Linked DNA regions of Homo sapiens: region 1 is linked to region 2. The links are contacts of gene promoters, found by promoter capture Hi-C in blood cells and fetal thymus (Javierre and others, 2016). All regions are on one chromosome and are shown on one strand. The core of a region is centred on a gene start or on the middle of the fragment in contact, and the rest is flanking DNA. Distances in the headings are between cores, read along the strand shown. Region 1 has its middle 27 kb from the start of BICD2. Region 2 holds the start of ASPN (asporin).

Evidence for each region. The method cuts DNA at HindIII sites, captures the fragments that hold promoters and counts their contacts. A CHiCAGO score of 5 or more calls a contact.
Region 1: a fragment that was not itself captured here is called in contact with the fragment with the promoter of ASPN in region 2 in 2 of 17 cell types (M2 macrophages and M1 macrophages); the score reaches 5.6 in M2 macrophages.

What each region holds. Positions count from the first base shown.
Region 1 is chr9:92,788,460-92,795,249 of GRCh38, forward strand. No RefSeq gene overlaps it. Among named protein-coding and RNA genes, the nearest start is that of BICD2, 27 kb to the left of the region's middle. The HindIII fragment of the contact is 8,551 bases long and covers 956-6,790 here.
Region 2 is chr9:92,480,242-92,486,511 of GRCh38, forward strand. ASPN (asporin) reads right to left here and starts at 2,265. Exons shown (of 8, transcript NM_017680.6): 1 at 2,052-2,265. The region is part of intron 5 of CENPP (centromere protein P); the gene reads left to right. The HindIII fragment of the contact is 2,340 bases long and covers 345-2,684 here.

The sequences.
Region 1 (6,790 bases), core at 3,981-6,480, 310 kb after region 2:
AATTATAGGCCAGGCGTGGTGGCTCACGCCTGTAATCCCAGCATTTTGGGAGGCCAAGATGGGTGGATCACGAGGTCAAGAGATCAAGACCATCCTGGCCAACATGGTGAAACCCCGTCTCTACTAAACATACAAAAATTAGCCAGCGTGGTGTTGCATGCCTGTAATCCCAGCTAGTGGGGAGGCTGAGGCAGGAGAATTGCTTGAACCCAGGAGGCAGAGGTTGCAGTGAGCCGAAATCGTGCCACTGCACTCCAGCCTGGAGACAGAGCAAGACTCTGTCTCAAGAAAAATAAAATAAAATAAAATAAAATAAAATAAAATAAAATAAAAAAGAATTACAAATACATTCTGTAAGAGTGTGCACCTGCTTCCTGAGATGCACTTTTAAATGATTTCTAATTTTTAATATTTCCATAAGCATGTTTCATGTAATGCACATATGGCTGACCTCACAGAAGTGGCTGACACATTACAGATGGCTTTGAAGTGGATCATGGTGGGGAAAAGTAAGACTTCATGCTGTATTATTTTAAAAGTCCATATAGTATGCTCACTTTTAAGCTAAAATAAAATGTAATGTTTTTGTGTGGGTGTTAATATGTGTAGCTGAAATATGATCTATTTTTGAAGACCACAGATATTTACAAAGAAAAACTAAAAGGAGCAGTCTTTGTACCATTTTAGGATGGTAGGTAGTGCTCTCTCTGTCTACCAGTGACAAGATTTTAAAATCATTTTTAGATTTTATGAGTTAACTTTCCTGTCTAGATTTTGGAAAGTAGAGAGAAAGTGAAGCTTCTAGATGGAAAGAAGCTGTCAAGTGGGCCACTTGCTGAATACTGAAAACAATGAGAAGGTACCATGTGGGCTAACACAAAATTCAATTCAGACACTGAACATATTAATAGGAAATTTTAGCAGAACTTGTGAGAAAGACAGTGTCTAAGTTGAAAGCTTGCCTAGTCTTTTCATTAAAGCCACTGAATGGCCTTAATGTTTTAAGTAGAAACGGGAGGATCCCTCACCTTCACTACATGTCATTCCATCTCCCAAAATTCAGATGTAAGACAACTTTAGGAGTTTACGTTTTTCCTATTAAGTAATGAAGTAAACTGTTAAGAGTTAAAGTCATCTTAGAATTTAGGTTTCATACTGGACTTTGCTCTCTTCCCTTCTCAGTCCCAGCCAGTCGAATTTGGTCTTCTGGGGTCAACCCAAACCTAGGTCAGATGGTGTAAACATGTGTCATCAGTTGAGGCTGCTATAACAAAATACCACATGCTGCGCTTAAACAAAAGAAATTTACTCCCTTGCAGTTCTGGAGGATGGAAGTTCAAGATCAAGGTGCCAGCAAGGTCGGGTTCTGGTGAGGGCTCTCTGCTTGGCTTGTAGTGGCAGCTTTCTCACTGTGTCTTCACAATGGGTTGAGTGAGAGAGAGCTCGGGCACCAGCATGCTAGCTCTCAGGTGTGTCGCTCTTCTTATAAGGACACTAATCCCCTCGTTTAAAAAAAAATCATTATTTATTTATTTAGTGAGACAGAGTCTCACTCTGTGTCCCGCTGGAGTGCAGTGGCATGATCTCAGCTCACCGCAACCTATGCCTCCTTGGCTCAAGCAATTCTTGTGCCTCAGCCTCCCAAGTAGCTGGAATTACAGGTGTGCACCACCACACCTGGCTAATTTTTGTTTTCTGTTTTTTTTTTGATAGAGTCTCTCTCTGTTGCCCAGGCTGGAGCACAGTGGCATGATCTAGCCTCACTGCAAGCTCCACCTCTGGGGTTCACACCACACTCCTGCCTCAGCCTCCCGAGTAGCTAGGACTACAGGTGCCTGCCACCATGCCCGACTAATTTTTTTGTATTTTTAGTAGAGATGGGGTTTCACTGTGTTAGCCAGGATGGTCTTGATCTCCTGACCTCTTGGTCCACCCACCTGGGCCTCCCAAAGTGCTGGGATTACAGGCTTGAGCCACTGTGCCCGGCCTGTATTTTTAGTAAAGACGGGATTTTGCCATGTTGGCCAGGCTGGTCTCAAACTCCTGGCCTCAAGTGATCCACCCACCTCTGTCTCCCAAAGTGCTGGGATTACAGGTGTGAACCTCCACATCATCATTAAGGCCCTACTCTCACGATCTCAATGGTTGATGGGTTGATGTAATTAAGGTGAAAATATGGAAGAAAATAGGAATTTTGAATGGACTTTATGTGAAGTGGTTGCACCTCCTTTACCTGAATGTGTTAACAGGATGGGTATTATGTCCGACTGGGGAACAGGTCTGTATCTAGTATTGTGAAGCAGAAGGCACGGACGTTTGCCCTTTGGCCCATATTAATTGGACACGCTAAATGGGAACCCACGGGCCTGAGCCCAGACAGGTTGTTAATTTGAAAAAGTGTAAAATGCTTGGTGGGCAAAGAGACTTTCACTTTAATAACCTGTTGGAGGCTGGAATCCTGGTACTGTGGTCTCTGTGCAATAACATTATGCATGAGTGCCACCCAGTGGTGACCACTGGGATTTTGGACCAGGAAATCCCCAGACCTGGTAGGTAGTAGCTTGCGATTGGGCATTAATTGAAACTGCCCCTAAGACTGAAGGACATACTCTCATCTTAAAGCCTGAAATACACATGTTGTCTTGGGGGATGGCAGAGATACAGTTCAATAAGGAAGGCACTGCTCAGAAGAGTTCCATAATAAAACGGAAATGGTTTCTACAGGAGCATGATACAGAGGAATGCAAGGAGGGCTTTTCCCCTCTGGCCGGTTTCGGAACCAGCTGAGGATCTGCCAGGTCTATGGCATCATGGATGGTGCCCCATGAACAGCTCTCAATGGACAACAAAGAGCTATTTGGTTTGTGGTTGGCAGTTTCAAGGTGGATGGACAACATCCAGATCTGAAGGCCACCACATCATGAGCAATAATGGGAAAACTCATATTGAAAAAGGCAAGAACAAATCAGCCCAGCTAGATGAACTGCATGCTGCGTTTCTTGCTGCGATGAAAGAATGGAACAATCATAAGAGCTCGTGTTTGGGTTTTTACTGACTCATGGGCAGTGGCCAATGGCCTGGCCATGTGACCAGGCAGAGGGGCAATGGCAAACTGGGCTGTGAAGGGATGCCAACATGGAGCACAGCACTGCAGGAATTTAAGGGGCACATTAAAGTAGGTCATATCAATGCCCACCTGAAGAATCCCTCCCAGGATCTGTGATCAGATCCGGTAGGTGGATATCCTGGTGAACAAACTTGAGGTGGCCACCTAGGTTCAACAAAGGAGTGGGTGACAGTGCAGGGATGGGCTGCTCAGAAACATGTCCCTCCTGCACCCTCAGAGACACAAATGCCAACAAGAAATGCCTTGACAACAAGAAGATGGAGACCACAGGTGGCTAAGGGGCAGATTCCCCAGAGGGAGAACACCGCACATGCAGCTGGCAGGTGGACTGTACGGGACCCCTGCTGGTAGCCCTGGAGGGAGTTTATAAATGGGTTCTGGCAGGAATAGACACTTACTCTGGACTGAGCTTTACCTACCCAGTGGCAGATGCAAATGCTCAAGATACTATAAAAGTACTGAGCAGAAGTCACTGTATCAATGTGTGTCACTAAGTTACATACCTTCGGACCAAGGAACACACTTTACAACCTACACAGGGCAAGGAGACATCCCATCAAATGGGTATATCATGCTGCACATTATCCTCAGAGTAGTTTGTGAGAGAATTGAAATGGGCAATGGAAATGTTTGTTATCTTACATGGGGAGAGATAAAAGCGTGAAGGCTTACACACCTCCATGCATGTGTGCTCACACTTAACATGTGGTGGTCAAGGAGGATCCCCACTAGATAGATCCCTCCACTCTTGGGGTGATCTGGGGAAGATGGCCGGGAAGGATGCTGCTACGACTATGCAGTTCTTCACAACAGCACCTCAACTTTCTTGTCTCCTACCTGCTGAAAAGAGCCTGAGATCAGGCCCACAGCTGCAAGTGTTGGAAGCATCTGCCACTGGGTAGGTAAAGCTCACACTACCACACCTAGCTAATTTTTGTATTTTTAGTAGAGACAGGGTTTCACCATGTTGGTCAGACTGGTCTCGAACTCCTGATCTTGTGATCCGCCGGCCTTGGCCTCCCAAAGTGCTGGGATTACAGGCATGAGCCACCGCACCCGGCCAGAGGCAGGAATGATTCTTAAGTGAGAAACAGTTGTTATATCTTTTAACATTTGTGTCAGAAATCCTAAAGGTCTGATGGGATAGCTGTGCCTCCACTGCATCTGGCAAATCAGAGGTGGACAGTGAGTGCAGCTGTATCTCCTGGTGGTCAGGGCAGCCTCACAGTTCGTCTCTTTGCAGCCCTACCTTACATGACTGGAAATGGCCCTGCGGGAGGCACCTGCTGAAGTGGTATTGCTGCTGGCCATCTGGGCCTACACTGCTGGCCATCTGGGCCTACACAGTGGATGAACCTAACATCCCTTCATCCTTTCTAAAGGTGTGAAAGTTGGGTGAAAATCAATGACAAATGGAGAGAAGGAGAAATAGTAGCTGAGGGCAAAGGAATGAATAAATGGGTTATGCAATGAGAGAAACCCAACAATATATTGGTGCCTCGAGGTAAGCTCAGAGCAAGGGAATTATATTGTCTCTTAGCACAGTTATACCAGATGCCTGAAAGGGTAAACTTGTGTGTTTGTCAAACCATCCCTGTTTTAGGAATCTGACAAGGTCGAATAGCAACCTGCAAACCTAGTGACATCACTGTCAGAGACACTGTGGTCACACGACGATGACCAAGTGGAACTCTAGCATCTTTCAACTCTGACTTTTCAGGGTACATCTACAACAAAGGGTATCTTTTGGGAAGGGTTTTTTGGGAACTACTCCCTATTGGGGCATCAGACTGTGTAGTGTATGATTGCTGGTTGACTGACTCCTGTGTAACTATAAACCCAGGTGATCAGAGGCTTACAAAGTTCTCCCTGGTTATCTTGGACGACATAGAATGGTGGCCTGTCCAACATGCCACAGTGTGTTGTGCACAGACACAAACCACCCTGTTCTGTGAATGGAAAGCTCTTACACAAACCAGGAAAAACCACTGGGATGGTGATGGAACTAAAGCAGTAGGCATCACCCGGTGGGTCCAAATTCCCCAAGGGAGCAGCCCCTCCATGCACAAGTAAGACAATGGAAACCTCTATGACATATTCAGACTAAATGACAATGAGGTGTGACCACGACTTACAAAATGCAAGTATGGGGAAACCCAATACTTTTGAGTAATGAAACATGTATCCTAACTGCGCTCAGCCACGAGGACACAGTGGCAACAGCATGCATGGTGGCCTGAACACTGGCCCACCAGACAGAAAAGGGCCTTAGGGGAGACGGGTGCTGGCCTCGGCTTCATGGGATGAGCTGAATTTGCTTTTTTTTTTTTTTTTTGAGGGGGAATCTCACTCTTGTTGCCCAGGCTGGAGTGCAGTGGCGCAATCTTGGCTGTCTGCAACCTCTGCCTCCTGGGTTCAAGCTATTCTCCTGCCTCAGCCTCCCGAGTAGCTGGGATTACAGACACCCGCCATCACGCCCAGATAATTTTTGTATTTAGTAGCGATGGGGTTTCACCATGTTGGTCAGGCTGGTCTCAAACTCCTGACCTCAAATGATCCGCCCACCTTGGCCTCCCAAAGTGCTGGGATTCCAAGTGTGAGCCACCGCACCCGGCCTGAATTTGCTTTTGATGAAGAGTAGCACTCAGTGGGGAAAAATTTATTGAAAAAAATAAGCAGATTAAAGGGAGCAAGGGGTGGGAGTCAGCCTGGGAGGACAATGAGGCTTCGGTGAAGTGGGTTGGGTAACGTTGGGTAAAGCTAGCACCCAGTGTTGGGAAAGGGCTTCTCCCTAGATCCAACAGGGTTACTTGACTATTTTGTTACAGATGGAGGCCAAAGTGGCCGTGGGGCAGTGGCCCTCTGTCCTGGTTGCTGAGGCTCAAGGGGCCCACCTGTGGGAATCGTATGGGTCTCCAAACCTATGGAAGCTCTCTGAGAGCTCTTGCAACTTCGACCAATGCACTCTGCTCTGGATAACCCACATCCTGTAGTATAATCAGCAGGAAAAGGAACTAGTCTGAATACCACCTACATCCCTGTAGGAGAGAGTATGTGAGCCCTGCTATATAACAGAAGCCAGTCCTGCAATACAAGCCTGTGAACTAAGACAAGGCGACTGACTTTGAAGCCCAGGAATTACCGAGTCATGGTCAATCGTTTTTTTTTTTTTTTTGAGATGGAGTCTTGCCCTGTCTCCCAGGCTGGAGTGCAGTGGCATGATCTCCGCTCACTGCAGCCTCCACCTCCCAGGTCCAAGAGATTCTTCTGCCTTAGCCTCCCGAGTAGCTGGGACTACAGGCGCTCACCACCATGCCCGGCTAATTTTTGTATTTTTTAGTACAGATGGGGTTTCACCATATTGGCCAGGCTGGTCTTGAACTCCTGACCTCATGATCCGCCCACCTTGGCCTCCCAAAGTGCTGGGATTGCAGGCGTGAGCCACCACGCCTGGCCTGTCATGGCCAGTTGTAATGATGCCTGGTCATAATAATATCTGCCATGTGAACACCGGCGGATTCTATTGGAAAGGCATAGCAAATGGCACTTAAATTATGACTGATTTATTCTGTGATGAAGCTAAATTGTGCCATGACCATACTGCAGTGTGATGCAACACTGCATTTTTAGTAAGATAAGAATGACACATTCCATGTTTCATAG
Region 2 (6,270 bases), core at 1,015-3,514:
AGTATTCTTCCAGTGCTACTGCTATTACTAATAAATCATAGTAGCCTAGAGCTAAGAGAGGTCTTTGAGACTTTCCCCCCATGGCCCTCTTTTACTGAGAAAAAGCAGAGGCAGTGAGCGTCCAGAACTGGCTGGAGGTGGTGGAGCTGAGGGCTGGCTTCCTCACTGCTTGTTGGTTGTGCTTTGCACTAGACTGCATGTCCTCCTAAATGGATTTTAATCTCATAGTTACTTCCAGACAGTAAACAGACTTTCCTCTGGAAAAGCCTAGGTAAGGAGGTTTGGCCAAGTTCTTAAAAGAGTTCATAACATATGGACTGGAAATAAAGCTTAAGAAGCACATAAGCTTTCTTGTTTCCATTTAACTGGTCTACAAACTTAGAAAGTTTATCTAAGTGAAATGGTATTTCCTCTCAGACACTATTATTAGGTAAATAAGTCACTGTGCTTTTAAATCCCATGTTTAAAGGCCCGCTTGGCAACTTTTCCCCTGGGTTTAAACATGCCTATCAGTTCACAGGTACCAGTAGCAGATTTCAGCATATAAATGTGATATAACATACTCCATATATTTCACCGAAGGAATCCAAACCAAATTCAGATGTAATCAAGGCATAGTCTTGTAAGCTAACAAATGAGTTAAAAGTCCAACATGCATTTGGAAACTTATTCACAGTACCATTTGTTCATGGATACTGATAAAGATAGCACTTTCCTTAAAAAGTAGTTAATTTTACCTTAGAAGTATAACTAGCATTCTGACAAAGCATTCTAGCTGTTCTTCCTTTTATACTAATTTTGCCCTTCATTAATTTCTCCACATGTCTAGCAATCAAGCTACTGTCTTAAAAAACAAAATCTACTGCCTCTCCATTTTTATGATGTTTCCCACAGTGCCTCAAGACTTGTGCTTGTAAAGTTAATTGTTTTTGTCTCAAACCTCAGATCAGTTATCAGAATATTTGTTTTTAATTGAGTAGTTAGTTGTAACAGAAGACTATATATCCTCTGTTCTTTCCACTACTACACTATACTCCTTAATGCCAAAAAACAAACTAAAAACATCAGGATCCTTTTATGTGTGTGGGCTTGTGCTCGATTTTTCTTTCTTTTTTCATTTCTTTCTTTTAACAGCTTGATTCTTGGATTTAAACAACTTTATTTTTAGGGAAATACAACCCCCTCAGGTTCTTTATGACTCAGTCCCTACACCATGTGGCCACTGTTTCCTGGGTGCCACACCTCTGAATAGATTAACATGAAAGAATGCTGTGCGCTATTTAGATTACTAGGGAGTAGAATATTGAATACATTGCTTAAATTTTTTAATCTAAAATTTAATCAGAAATTTACTTTGGGAGTAGACAAAGGAAATCTTTGAAAGTGTTAAATTCTGACTGTATACATGCTGTGAAAATTTCCTAATCTTTCATATTGAATATAGTGCTAGCTAAACTATTGCTGATAAGTATTCTTTCTTGGAATTGAATAGATTTCCATTTGAACTTTTCAGTGCCATTTCATTATAATAAGGAAGACATTTATCAAGGAAAAAAATGAATATTCAAATGTATAAGTAAAATTGACATTTCAGTAATTCACACATTTTAAATACACATTAGAAAATATTTTAAATATTGAAAAATATATTTACTGTTTCATTTAATATAGCTGTGATATCCCCAAACTTCATGATCATTATTATAGCAATGTTATTTTCCTAGATAAACATACAAGATGTTTATTTAGATGACTTTTAAAATCAATCATGTTAACATTTATGGTAAGGCATAATGACAGGTTTTCACTTAGCTGAAAAAAAAAGTCACATAATTATATTTAAAATACATTCATTATAGGTAAGACATAAAACTAGAATAATTTTAGGTACAAATTTAGGTTTGTATTTAAATGCTGATTTTTAAGAAATTATAGAGATAAACTTTGGACTTTATCCTATTATTTATAAGCATTTATTAATAACATTAATGTCTCCTTAGTATTGACTGTAAAGTATACATCGATACTTGTAAGATAGACATGAAACATACCTGTCAGAAGAGAGTAGTCCTCCTAAAAGTAGAAGTTATCCACCATGTACTACTTATCTATAATGTAAATGTTCTCAGACACTGTGTAAGAAGAAAAGATGAGGAGGTATTACATTTAAAAGAAAAAAAACACCCTTCAACACAGTCCTGGTGTGGCTGCACCCTGGGTGATACTGGAATAAACTGCTCCCACAGATTAGTCCATGTTAGTACTGAGGAGCAAGATTAAAACTTGTTACTGCTCATGTGTTTTCCATCACTGTTTGTATCGTAGCCAAGACTTCTAGCTAAACTCTAGACGTCTACTGGAAGATTCTGAAGAAGAAAAAAAAAGAAAGTTTAATAATGCATGGCAACTGGCCATTGAAAGTGCAGTCGGAGTCATTCAAGAAATACCTAGTTTTAAAAATATTAGATTCTTAAGTGAATGAATATTTGTAAATTACAATTTCAAAAATTACTCAACCTGTATAGACTAATAAAATATTTATCAATCTGAATAAAGGATACCAACATTACTGAAGTATATACCCAAACTTCAGATGTACCTGAGAAAGAACCATACTTTTTTTTTCTTCTAATGACTGTAGCTATTGCATTATGCATACTTCTCCAGACTTTTTTTTTTTTTTAAGCTTTTAGCACTGCTATAGCATGTCAGGGAAACTATGGATGAGGCTCCATGAACTGCTCCCTGGACTCAACATATGTGATATAACACAGACACACATGCATGTCCAAGTAACACCCTCTTAGGATGCATACAACTTTCCCTTTTCAAGAGAATATTAGCTATGGCCTCACTGACATTTAGGGAGACTTAGAGCAGGGAAGATGCTATTTCCTGAAAATAAATCATTATTTGTACCCCCTTTCCACTCATCCCCAAGAGACTGCCCAATTCTACATCAACTAAGACCTTCAAGAGAGGACAGTTTTCTTTTTTTTTTTTTTGAGACGGAGTCTCACTCTGTCACCCAGGCTGGAGTGCGGTGGCGCAATCTTGGCTTACTGCAAGCTCTGCCTCCCAGGTTCACGCCATTCTCCTGCCTCAGCCTCCCGAGTAGCTGGGACTGCAGGCGCCCGCCACCACGCCTGGCTAATTTTTTGGTTTTTTAATAGAGACAGTGTTTCATTGTGTTAGCCAGGATGGTCTCGATCTCCTGACCTCGTGATCTGCCCGCCTCGGCCTCCCAAAGTGCTGGGATTACAGGCATGAGCCACCATGGCCGGCCTGAGAGGACAGTTTTCTAACCCTAGTGGCAAGGACTTACTGTTGTAAGTGACCCCAATGGTTCTTCCCAACTGTTGTATAGATTTGGAGGCCAGCAAAGAGCTTTTCCAGTGGGTTAGAAGACCTGTTCTCTACTGTCATCAAGAGTCTGACCATCGTTTGTTCCCTCTCTCCAGAGAAATGGCACACATTGTGTTAAGCAAGGCAGCTACAGTCCTAAAGAATACATGTGCCTCAGATGTGCATAGCAGCTGGCTATGTGTTCATCCTCCCCTCACTTAAATAAAGTACTCCTCCTTGGACCTCTAGGCTGACAGTTCCAGGCAGCTCGGTAGTCCCATTAGTGGCCCTCTGTAACTCAGGCCCCATCCTAGCCCTGCAGCACCTTAGGGAATGACGGCCCTCCTGTTTGGTTTAGAATGCTCATATTCTCATTTATTCAAGTATATTTCAGTTGCAAATGTATCTGTTAACTGGATGAATTGGGAACATAATGAAAATATGAACTGGATTTTTAAAATCTTTGTATCCAGAGCATCTAGTGTTTGCCTAAATTCCTTCAGAACACAGTCATAAACAGGAAGCCCTTGGGTCAAATTCAGTTTGTCCTGCACAATGTTTTGTTTCTGAACTGTTTATTGAAGTGTATGTTACCAAAAAAAAACATATCATAATGGTACAACTCAATTAATTTTTACAAAATGACCCCAATCAAGAAATCCCAGCCTCACACTCCATTCTCATACATCCAGAATCCCTCCTCTTACTCCTCAAGTCACAGCCTGAGTTCAGCACCATAGGTTATTTCCTGAACTTTATATAAATGGAATCATACTGTGCATTCTCTTTTGCATCTGGCTTTTTTCATTCAGTGACATGCTTTTGAGATCCATTCGTGTCATTGTGATACACAGTAGTTCATTCTTGTCACTGTATAGTATTCTCATACATGAATAAGCCACAAATTGTTTATATATTCAACTAGATTAATTACCTTTTGGAGAGGTACTATGAACGTTCCTCAGTCTGTCATTTGGGGGTCATGTGTATGTATTTTTGTTAGGTGAAATTGCTGTATTTAAAAATAAGATTTCAACTTCTCTTTAAAAATTAGGCTTTCCCAGTCTGTGATTTCTGGTTTTGCATGGCAACTGTTGTCTCTGGGACTTGTGTTTTTCTCTTCTATACTCACAGGATGTTGTCCACGTCACCCACCCAAGGCACTCCTCAGTCGAGTTGCCTGCATGGCCTTTCTGGGTGCAGTTTTGCCTCCCATATCTAGAGAGTTGAGAGGCAGTTCCTGTAAGATTGTGTTTCTAAAGATATGTTACAGCTACTTTTCCTTCTCCCCACTGTGAGACTTAAGCTAGTCTTCCTCTGATATTTTGCTTCGATCTTTGGTCAGAGGGCCTAGGGAAAGAAATAGGCCCTGGAATAAGATGCTGGGGTTAGGGGTAGTATATTTGGCTTATTCACTCTGTTCTGCAGATAATGTGGTAAAGGTGCAGGCCTCAGGCACAACCCTCCACCATCTTGGGGCTGTGACATGGAAAGCTTTGCCTCACATTTGCCAGAGATGGTGCAGCAGGCACGAACGTGCCATCTGGGAAGAAACTGGAGTTTATCTCCACCCTTTTCCAGGTTATCATTCCAAATGAAACAGTGTACCTCTTCTTCCCTCAAGTATTGTGAAGAGAAAAATCTTCCATTTTTGTTTCCTAAAGGGGTCCTATGGAGGGGACCTAGTTCTTTTCTCCATGCTTTTTAAATTGTTTTATTTTTGCCTCATTGAGCCTTAGTCTAAATATTGAAGAACTAGTTGCATTATAACAGTATATTTAGGAATCACAAGTAATTTACATGTTGCAAACACAAAGATAAATTACAAAATTGAAAAAGTAATATTCTCAGTACTGACAGTTTATGAATAAAAATATTGATTGCCATAAAAGGAACTTTAATGCAAATTTATTTTCCTTTGGCCTTATATATGCTAACCATCGTGAAAATAAAAATAAATTGCCTAATCTAAGCTCTCGTATGATTTCTCACACCCTTTCTAGAACTTCTCCTGGTCTAGACATGGACAACAGTGGTCAAAGTCCAAACACAAATAAGAACAGGGGAGGACCTTGGAAACTGTCTCATGCAAATAAAAGATTGATTGATTGACAGAGTCTCACTCTGTCACCCATGCTGGAGTGCAGTGGTACAATCATACCTCAAACTCCTGGGCTAAAGCAATCCTCCCATCTCGGCCCCCCAAAGTGCTGAGATTACAGGTGGGAACCACCTGCACACAGCCCAAATGAAAAGGTTTGATAGGTGAGGCAGGAGCTATAGGAGCAGCATGTGTCAGGAGTATATTGTGGGGCACACACACACCTGCCAAAAAAGTAGGCAGTTTGAATTTTCTGATGTTCTTTTGCCAGTCTGTGGTGTCCTTCACATTCTAAATGAATTGGAATAGATTGTACAATGTTCTTTTATAGTAGTAGCTACAAGAAAGGCCGTCCACCAATCCATTCATTCAACAAATAGTGTAAGTGCTATGGAGAGAAGCAGGATAGGGGTGGGGGTGTCAAGGGTGCCCTCCCTGTCAGGTGACAGTCACAAGACCTGAGGGCTGTGAGGGAGTTAGCCGTGCCATGCAAACACCCACTTTAAGAATGTTCTAGGCCACTGAATTCTAGGATGTAAATATGCATAACATAGGGTTTTTTGTATAGTAGATGCTTAAAAAAGCTTCTGTGAAGGGATAAGTGATTAAGATTTCATGAGTTTTAATGTTCAAGTGTCCCTCATGGTGGACTAGGCACTTCGGTTTCTAATGAACTTATTTTATACTGTAGGTTGTGACCCAGGGGCAGTATTCAACATGCAGATTGTTTGGAGCATATAGTATTTTTAAAAACCAGGACATTTGATATCGAAGTCCAAATTTACAATGTATTTGGAAAAATATGAGCTGGAAAAACTGACCCT